3 separate regions of the Homo sapiens genome follow, and regions 2 and 3 are each linked to region 1. The links are contacts of gene promoters, found by promoter capture Hi-C in human tissues and cell types (Jung and others, 2019). All regions are on one chromosome and are shown on one strand. Each heading gives the region's core, a stretch centred on a gene start or on the middle of the fragment in contact. The rest is flanking DNA. Distances are from core to core; before and after follow the strand shown.

Region 1 (2,633 bases), core at 89-2,588:
CAGACCAGGCCCCGCGCGGGGGAGGGGGGAGGGGGGAGGAGGAAGGGGGGTGTCCCACGTTCCAGCCTCGGGCTCCAGGACCCCCTCTTCCCAGGGCCCCAGCAAGAGCCCTTCCTGGCCAGCGTCCGGGAGCTCTGAGGGCAGGGACAGGGCAGGGAGGCCCCACACCGCTTCCAGCCGCATTTCGGCTGCCGTGACCTTGGGGGAGTCGCGTCCTCCCTACGCGGCCTCAAGCGCCTCATCTGTAAAATGGGAGCGAACCCCCTCACCCCGGCAGGAAGCTCTGAGGGGAAGGGCACCCAAAGACGCTGAAGGGGCCGCCCTCTGCGACCGCCCCGGCTGTGCCAGGCGCGCGCACCCCCCGCGGCGCCGGCTGTCTTCCCCTCATAAATTAGCACCGAGCGGGAGGCGGCCTCCCCCGCCCGCAGATTATATTTAGGCACTCGCCGGGGCCCAGCCGCGGCGGGCGCTACCTGCCCTGGCACCCGCCCCCACCCAGGATGCCCGGGAGGGGACAGGGGAGGCGGTGGGGGTGGGGGGCTGCGCGGCGGGGACGCAGGTGCGGACCCCGGACCCTCCCCGGCTCCGGCCCGCTCGGGGCCCTGCGCCCATCCCCACGCCCATAGCCAGCCCTGCGCGGGGCCCGGCGCGGCAGAAAGCGGGGGGCTTCCCAGGCTGGTCCCCGGGAGCCGGGCGCGGGGTCCGCGTGGACGCCGGGGCGGGGGAGCTCCGCGCCGGCCCGAGGGACTGCGGCAGCCGGGGGCCCGGCGCACTGACCCGCCAGCAGGGCGTAGAGCAGCTGCGCGCGCGGGTGCTGCCGCAGGCCGCGGAAGGCCGTGTTAGGGATGCGCTCCATGATGCCGTCGTAGAAGATGCGGCGCGCCGCCTCCTGCTCGGCCGCACGGAACTCGCGGATGCACACGCCGCGCCCCCCCGGCGGCCCCGCGCCCCCCGCCCCGCCGTGAGGCTGAGCCACCGGGGCAGGTGGGGGCGCGGGGGGCGCGGCGGCCGGCCCGGGCGCGGCGGGCAGCGGGGGCCACATGGCGCCGGCGGCGGCGAGCAGCGCGTCCTTCTTGGCCCCCGGCAGCGCCTCATGGTCCTCGGCGGCCACGATCTTCGTCTCGCAGACCATGTCGGGAGGCCCACAATGCATGCACCCGGCCGGGCGGCGCGGCAGCGGGGACGCGGCCGGGCGGCGGCGGGCACGGCCGGGCCCAGGGCAAGGGCGCGGCGCCCTCGGACCCGCGGCGGCGGCGGCGGCGGCGGCAGCGGCGGCGGCGGCGGCGGCAGCTCAGGGGCGCGGGGCGGAGGCGGCGGGCGGCCGGGGCGCGCGCAGGGAGCTGCGCCGCATTTTGGAGAAGTATTTATAATGCGGCGGCGCCGGTGCAGTCGCGGCGCCCGCGGCCCGCAGGGTCCTAGCGTCCACTGCATTGGCTGCCGGGGGTCACCATGTGATCGCGGGGGTGGGGGAGACGCCGCCCCCGCCTCGCCGGGTGGCTCGCTGGGCGCGACGGGGCGGCCGGGCAGCGCGAGGGGCCCGGCACGGGCGGGGGCGGCGGCGCGGGCGGGGGCTCCTGGCCCGGGGGCGTCCGGCGGGGCTCGGGACCCGGCCGCGGAGCGCGTGATGGGCGCCGCCCGCCCCGCCCCCCGCTCCCACGCCGCGCGCCTGGGAGCGCCCCGACCCCGGGCCCGACCGCTGGCGATCGCGGCGCCACGTCCTCCTCCTCCTCCTCCGCGGCCGCCCGGAGCAGTCACGGCAGCGTCTCCCGCTCCGTCTCCTGCCTTTGTTTGAAAGCAGCGCCCGCGGTGGACCTGGGGAGAGGGCGCCGCGGCTGCCCCGGCCCGGAGCCCCCGGGAAGCCTCGTCCGGAGCCGCACGGGCAGCCGGAGTGGGGACGCGGAAGGGCGGGGTCTGCGGCCTGGCGCGGCGCCCCCCTGTCCGAGCCCCGCAGTGGGCACGGGGATGCGGGGCCCGCAGGACCCCTCCCGGCCCGGCCCCCGCCCCCCGCGGCCGCGCATGCGCCCCGTGGCCTCGGTGCAGGTGCAGCGGGGGCTCTGCGCCTTGTAGGACCTGCAGACGCCGCAGGCTGGGGCGGAGAAGCTCAGGTGCGGGGAGGCGGTCGCAGACCCCATCCTCGGCGCTTCTCGAACCTAGCCCCCTTCAGTTCTGCGCGACCTCCCAGCACCACCCCGAGGGCTGCCGGAGCAGAGCTTCCCCGACATGCGCGGGCGGGACGGGGCCAGGGGTCCAGGCCTGGGGACCCGCAGTCTGCGTTGTGCGGTGGAGTTGGGGCCAGCCGGGCAGCTGAGGTCACCTGAAGGCCAGGAGGGGCTGGGCCTGCCCGTGGACGTGGGAGTGAGGCCGCAGCGCCCTGGTGGGGTGGGGAGGGGCGGCTGAACTGGTCCACAGCCCCGTCCGCCAGAGAACGGGCCCTGGAGAGGGGCAGGGGACGGGGTGGGGGCGTGGGGGGGAGGGGAAGCCAAGCTGGGAAGGCGCCCCCTCAGTGTCTGGGGCCCGCTGTCAGCTTTTCAACCTAAAGGAGAAAACAGGCAAAACGAATAGAAATAGTTTGTTGGGGCCAAGTTTGAGGACTGCAGCGTGGAAGGACAGACTCAGGTTGGTCTGAATGCACG
Region 2 (2,633 bases), core at 39-2,538, 110 kb after region 1:
CTGCCAGGAGGGCCCTGCAAGAGCCACAGCGCACATCCTGTTCTTTAACACCCACAAAGGGCCACTTGACGTGCTCTGAGTTCAAACCTCCAATTTAACAAGCGCATCAGATATGGACTCAGCAGTGGAGACCTGAGCACTTCTGAGATGAGACTGGAGGGGGAGCCAGGGGAGCACAGGGCATGGGGAAGCAGTGGCCACACTGTCTGGGGCCCCACTCAGAGAGTCACCCACACAGTCGCCCAAGCTGACCCATCTGATGGGGGAACCAAGGCCCAGAGAAAGGGGCCTTCTGCATGGCTCAGGGGAGAGAGCCCCAGCGCTATCCACCAACCCATGCTCTTCCCTTAACGTGGTGGAACAAACTTAAAAAGCTTTAAAAATGAGAAAAAAAATGCATGGAGAGAAAGACAGAAAACACAAAGCAGTCCTGGGTCAGAGGAAGGAACAGCACCTTTTATTTCAGATTTACAGAAAAAGTTAGCACGTTTCCACTTGGAGAGATTTCCTACATTAACAAAGTCTGTTTTGAGGAAATAAACACTGAATACATATTTTGAATGGAAATATATAAATGTTAACGACACACATGAGGCTCATTTCCTGATCAGGGTCTGGGACCCACATACAGAATATAGACCTTACAATAGTACAGTCCATGACACAGATTGCAGAGATTCCGACTTTTTCCCACCACACCCCCTCCCAGCCACCGGACAGACAACTAGCCACAGTCGGGGAGGATCCAATGCTCTCGGCTCGGCAACCACCCGCAAGGAGAGCAAAGTACGAGGGCGTCCCACAGCAAGCCTTACTCCAGCCGCAGGCTCCACCTCCACGCACCAGGTGACGTGACTCACTCGGAGAAGCCATTTGTGGAGGTGGCACATTCACCTGTACGGTCCCAACATAGTCCCAAATCTCAGTCTACAACATCTACGATCTATTCCATATCCAACGAGATGCATTTGGAAAGGAAAAGTGCAGGGACTGAGCGGACACAGACTCTGTCAAGAACTTTCCCGTTGTTTCCCGCGTCCACCACAGCCATGCTGCGGCACTGAGCTCCGAGCAGCTTAGCTCCTGACTTTTCAAAGTTTTCTTCAGTCTGAAAATACTTTCTCCACTCTCTACTCAGAATAAGATAGTACCAAGTTGCCTATTTGCCTTAGAAATACATTCCTTCAGGGCAGGGAATGCAGTCTCCTTGATCTATTACAGGGACTTTTCAAGATGATATTACCAAACATAACGGAACCTAGTGAACACATTCCAGCCAACTGCTAAAAGCACGTGGCCCTTCAGGGTGACCTGTATGAGCCGCAGTCAGATGCCACCTTCTGTGACTGCAAAGCGCTCACCTACTCTTCAGAGTGGCGTCATACACATTGAGTTTTTAATTTTTTGACAAAACAAATCCCTTCACAACTTGAATACGACATCGTTTTTGAAATACAATTACAGACCTTGAACAATAAATATTTCTATAAACTGACATAATTTTCATGTTGAAATGATGGTTTTGTAAAGAAGGAAGCTGATGGCGAGAAGTACCTCCACAGTGTTTGCGTTTACAAATGACAACAGCCCTGTGCTCAGCAGATTAAATGAGTGTGAAATCAAGACTAATTTCAAACAGGTCTTCCAAGTTAACAGCACAGTAAAATGTTAAAGTGGAATTAAAATAAGTCACTCATCATCTAAAATACTATAGTTCATAACAATTTTTATTAAAGTGACCCTTCTAGGTTACACAAACTAGAAACTTCCTGGCTATCCCTAAATTCTAGGGTCAGGGCTGGGGGTGAGTCTCTGAGAACAGAGGAAGTCTCCACTCCCAGAGCACCACTGCACACCACAGTCGTCTTCTAACCTGCACAGGCTTTTGTGTAGCCGTAGCCACATAGCCCCAAGCAGGTGGCAGCAAGGACCAAGTGTCACCTGTGGCCAGAGTGAGGCCAGGTGGCTGCTGCTCCCAATTCAAGGCCTGCCCTTGTCAAAGGTAAAATGAATCTAAAATATCCTATCAACCCAACTTTGTCCCACTGTGTCCTGAGCAGCGGCCATCCCACAGGGAGTGTGCTGGGGAGGAGCCTGGTCTGGCCGACTGCAGACAGCAGGCTGTGCACTGTCTGCGAAGGACTTGAGGACAATGACAAAACTGCCCACAATACACCTGCTTCCACTGGCACAGTGCTGAGCAAACCCCCATCAGCCGGACCAGGACCCCCACCCCTACCTCAGTCATTTCTTGAAAATACTATATGCCTGGATGGTCAGCATGCTTCAAAATATTACCCGAGAGTTATATGCAAAAAGGCCAACAACTATAGGTAGGCTAGAAAAAAACACAAATGTGGACCTAACACGTAACCATGGAGTTCAAAGGTATCCAACCAAAAAGATGAGGCCTGTCGGGCTGTTGGAGAGACACCCTGCTGTAAGAATGTCCCAAAGGAAGCATGCTCCTTGCTCATCCAGTATAGGAATCAGATGAATATAATACAAATAATTTTCTACCTGCTAATTACAGTCAATTTGACATCACTGCCAGGTAAATTAGTGGTAATTTCTAACATTCTACATAAAACAATAAAAATGGTACCCAAAGGGATCAAAACCAATTTCGTTGA
Region 3 (2,633 bases), core at 51-2,550, 96 kb before region 1:
TGTGTTTGCCTGTGCACTTTCTGTTTCCAAGAGGGGACTTCATACTGATATGTTGTGTTTTATTCTGTTTATTCTGAGAACATAGCAGGAGAACAAGACAGATGGGTTCTCTTCTCATGAAGTGCTGAGTTAGCAAGAGGGGGGCTTCACACCCAGAAACCCATGCACTCCAGTGTGCAGGCAAAAAGGACACCCGTACCCCATCTTCCTTTTCAGATTTGTGCCAGACAGGTGGCTTCTGATTTCCAGAAATGTGTTGAAGTATCTGATGCTATGATGAACAGCTCCATTTTTTGGTGGTTGTTGAAGCTGTATCTCTGATGAAGAAAAAAAAAAAAAAAGCTCTAAATTCCCTTGAACTTATGATGCAGCTTGCATCACACTTAAAGCACTTAACTTTCTAAATGGCTCTGTATTTTGAACTAAAAAAGACTCATGATTAATTTCTCATTATAGAAAATTCCTTAGATACAGAAAAGAAATAAAAATAGTAATAAGTCACTTGTTATCCACTGTGCAGAACTGTGGTATCTATCTTTCCACACTTTTTGCTAAGCACATATATTTATAAAATACAATTTTTTAGGCCAGGCGCGGTGGCTCATGCCTGTAATCCCAGCACTTTGGGAGGCCGAGGCGGTGGATCATGAGGTCAGGAGTTCAAGACCAGCCTGGCCAATATGGTGAAACCCCGTCTCTACTAAAAACACAAAAATTAGCTGGGCGTGGTGGCGGGTGCCTGTAGTCTCAGGTACTAGGGAGGCTGAGGCAGGAAAATGGTGTGAACCCAGGAGGCGGAGCTTGCAGTGAGCCGAGATAACGCCACTGCACTCCAGCCTGGGTGACAGAGCGAGACTCTGTCAAAAAAAAAATACAATTTTTTTCTACAAAAATAAAGCCATGCTATTTTATATTATGCTTTCTTATTTTAACATCTCTTGATATCATTCTACATTAATATTGATTTGAATCTATATTTAAATTTAAATATATGAATTAAATATGTGAATTATTTAAGTACACACTAACATATATATATAAATATGAATATGTATTCATGGTAAAGAAATACAAGTATGTGGAGGTTTACAGAATGAGCAAATGTTAGTCATCTTTCCCTTCCCTCCGTAACATGTGTCTGTCCCGTGGGTTCCCTCCATTAAGGGTCAGGCCTTCACCCAGGCATTTGCATAGATGGTGTACCGAGTGCATGCAGGCAGAGGGACACACTCAGGTGACTGTGTGAGGAAGAGGAAGAGAGGCTGGGATGGGGTGAGTTTGCGCTAATCGTGTGGCCTCTTGGGTGCATGGACACCCACTCTTGGTCAGTCAGCTCTCGGGCTGCCAGCTGTCTCTGGCCTTGCACTTTAGGGAGCTCTTCTGGGGTCTTTATCTAGCGAAGAGTGGTAGTAATAGCAATAGTAATGTGAATACCAATACCAGCACCAATATCCATGTGAATACCAGTGCCATCTCCTCTGAATGCAGGCACTGCTGCCACGTTACCCTTGGGCTAATTTCTCAACCAACCACAACTGCTGTAGTTTCTCTTAGTTGATACTTCTTATCTAAGAGTTATTTAGGAATTCTGCTGAGAAACTTTTCGTGGAGGTCCTTGCTTTTGTTTTTATGCAGTTATAAGTTTCTTTTTCCATTACATTTTCAGTAAATCTCTTGCTGTGTTTTATTCTCTTCCAGAAGTTTCTGAAGGGTCTGGTTTGTGAGTAGCACTCCTCCCAGGTTCTCAGTGAAGCTCTAATTTTACCTATTTATTTTTCTGTTATTTCAGTTGAACTTTTGGAAAGATGAGATGTAAACATAACATGTGCATTCAGCCATGACCTTTAACTGGAAGTTTGTGTCATCTTTTTAACAGCTGCATTGTATTCCATTTAATGGCTGCCCCTATTGATGGTCATTTAGATTGTTTGCAGTTTTAATTATTTTATAGAAATACCATAAACATACCTGTACTTTATCATAGCAATACCATACAAACTTCAATAGCAATACCATAACCAATACCATGAACATTTTTGGTACTTTTTTCTGTTGATTTCTATAGTGCAATTTCCTAGAGATAGAATTTCTGAGTCACAGTATATATGTATTTTTAAGGCTTTATGTTGCCAAATTAGCCTCTCGCCAAAAATAACATTCCCACCACATAGTATGTGAAATGCTTGGTCCCTTAATCCTTGCCAACACAAGGAATTTTCGTTTTGATTACTTTCCTGACTCATTTTTTCAATTTCCATTTCTTTAAATATTTGTTGAGGTTGACTACATGAAACAATTATTCTTCTTTGAATTGCCTGTTCATGTCATTTGCCCATTTCTCTGGAGGGTGTTTATTTTTTCCTATTGGTATGGAAAAGCTCTTTATATAATAAAAATTAACCCTTTATGAAATGTTGAATTATTTTCCTCCAATTTTCTTTTGCCTTTTAACTTTTAAGATATATATTCTGGTTTGCCATACTTAAAATGTCTTTTTTTTTTTTTTTTTTTTTTTTTTGTTGAGATGGAGTCTCGCTGTCGCCCAGGCTGGAGTGCAGTGGCGTGATCTCAGCTCACTGCAAGCTCTGCCTCACTGGTTCATGCCATTCTCCTGCCTCAGCCTCCCGAGTAGC

What was found. Contacts are between HindIII fragments. The study calls those that stand out against the background at their distance.
Region 2: a contact is called between a fragment that was not itself captured here and the fragment with the promoter of NAT8L in region 1, in 3 of the 25 tissues and cell types used here (dorsolateral prefrontal cortex, lymphoblastoid cells and mesendoderm cells).
Region 3: a fragment that was not itself captured here is called in contact with the fragment with the promoter of NAT8L in region 1 in 2 of the 25 tissues and cell types used here (adrenal gland and mesendoderm cells).

The regions. Positions count from the first base shown.
Region 1 is chr4:2,058,032-2,060,664 of GRCh38, reverse strand. It overlaps NAT8L (N-acetyltransferase 8 like), which reads right to left and starts at 1,338. Exons shown (of 3, transcript NM_178557.4): 1 at 778-1,338. The coding sequence starts at 1,153. The HindIII fragment of the contact is 12,290 bases long and covers 1-2,633 here.
Region 2 is chr4:1,946,622-1,949,254 of GRCh38, reverse strand. The region is part of intron 9 of NSD2 (nuclear receptor binding SET domain protein 2); the gene reads right to left. Among named protein-coding and RNA genes, the nearest start is that of MIR943, 39 kb to the left of the region's middle. The HindIII fragment of the contact is 5,987 bases long and covers 1-2,633 here.
Region 3 is chr4:2,154,084-2,156,716 of GRCh38, reverse strand. The region is part of intron 16 of POLN (DNA polymerase nu); the gene reads left to right. Among named protein-coding and RNA genes, the nearest start is that of HAUS3, 87 kb to the left of the region's middle. The HindIII fragment of the contact is 6,445 bases long and covers 1-2,633 here.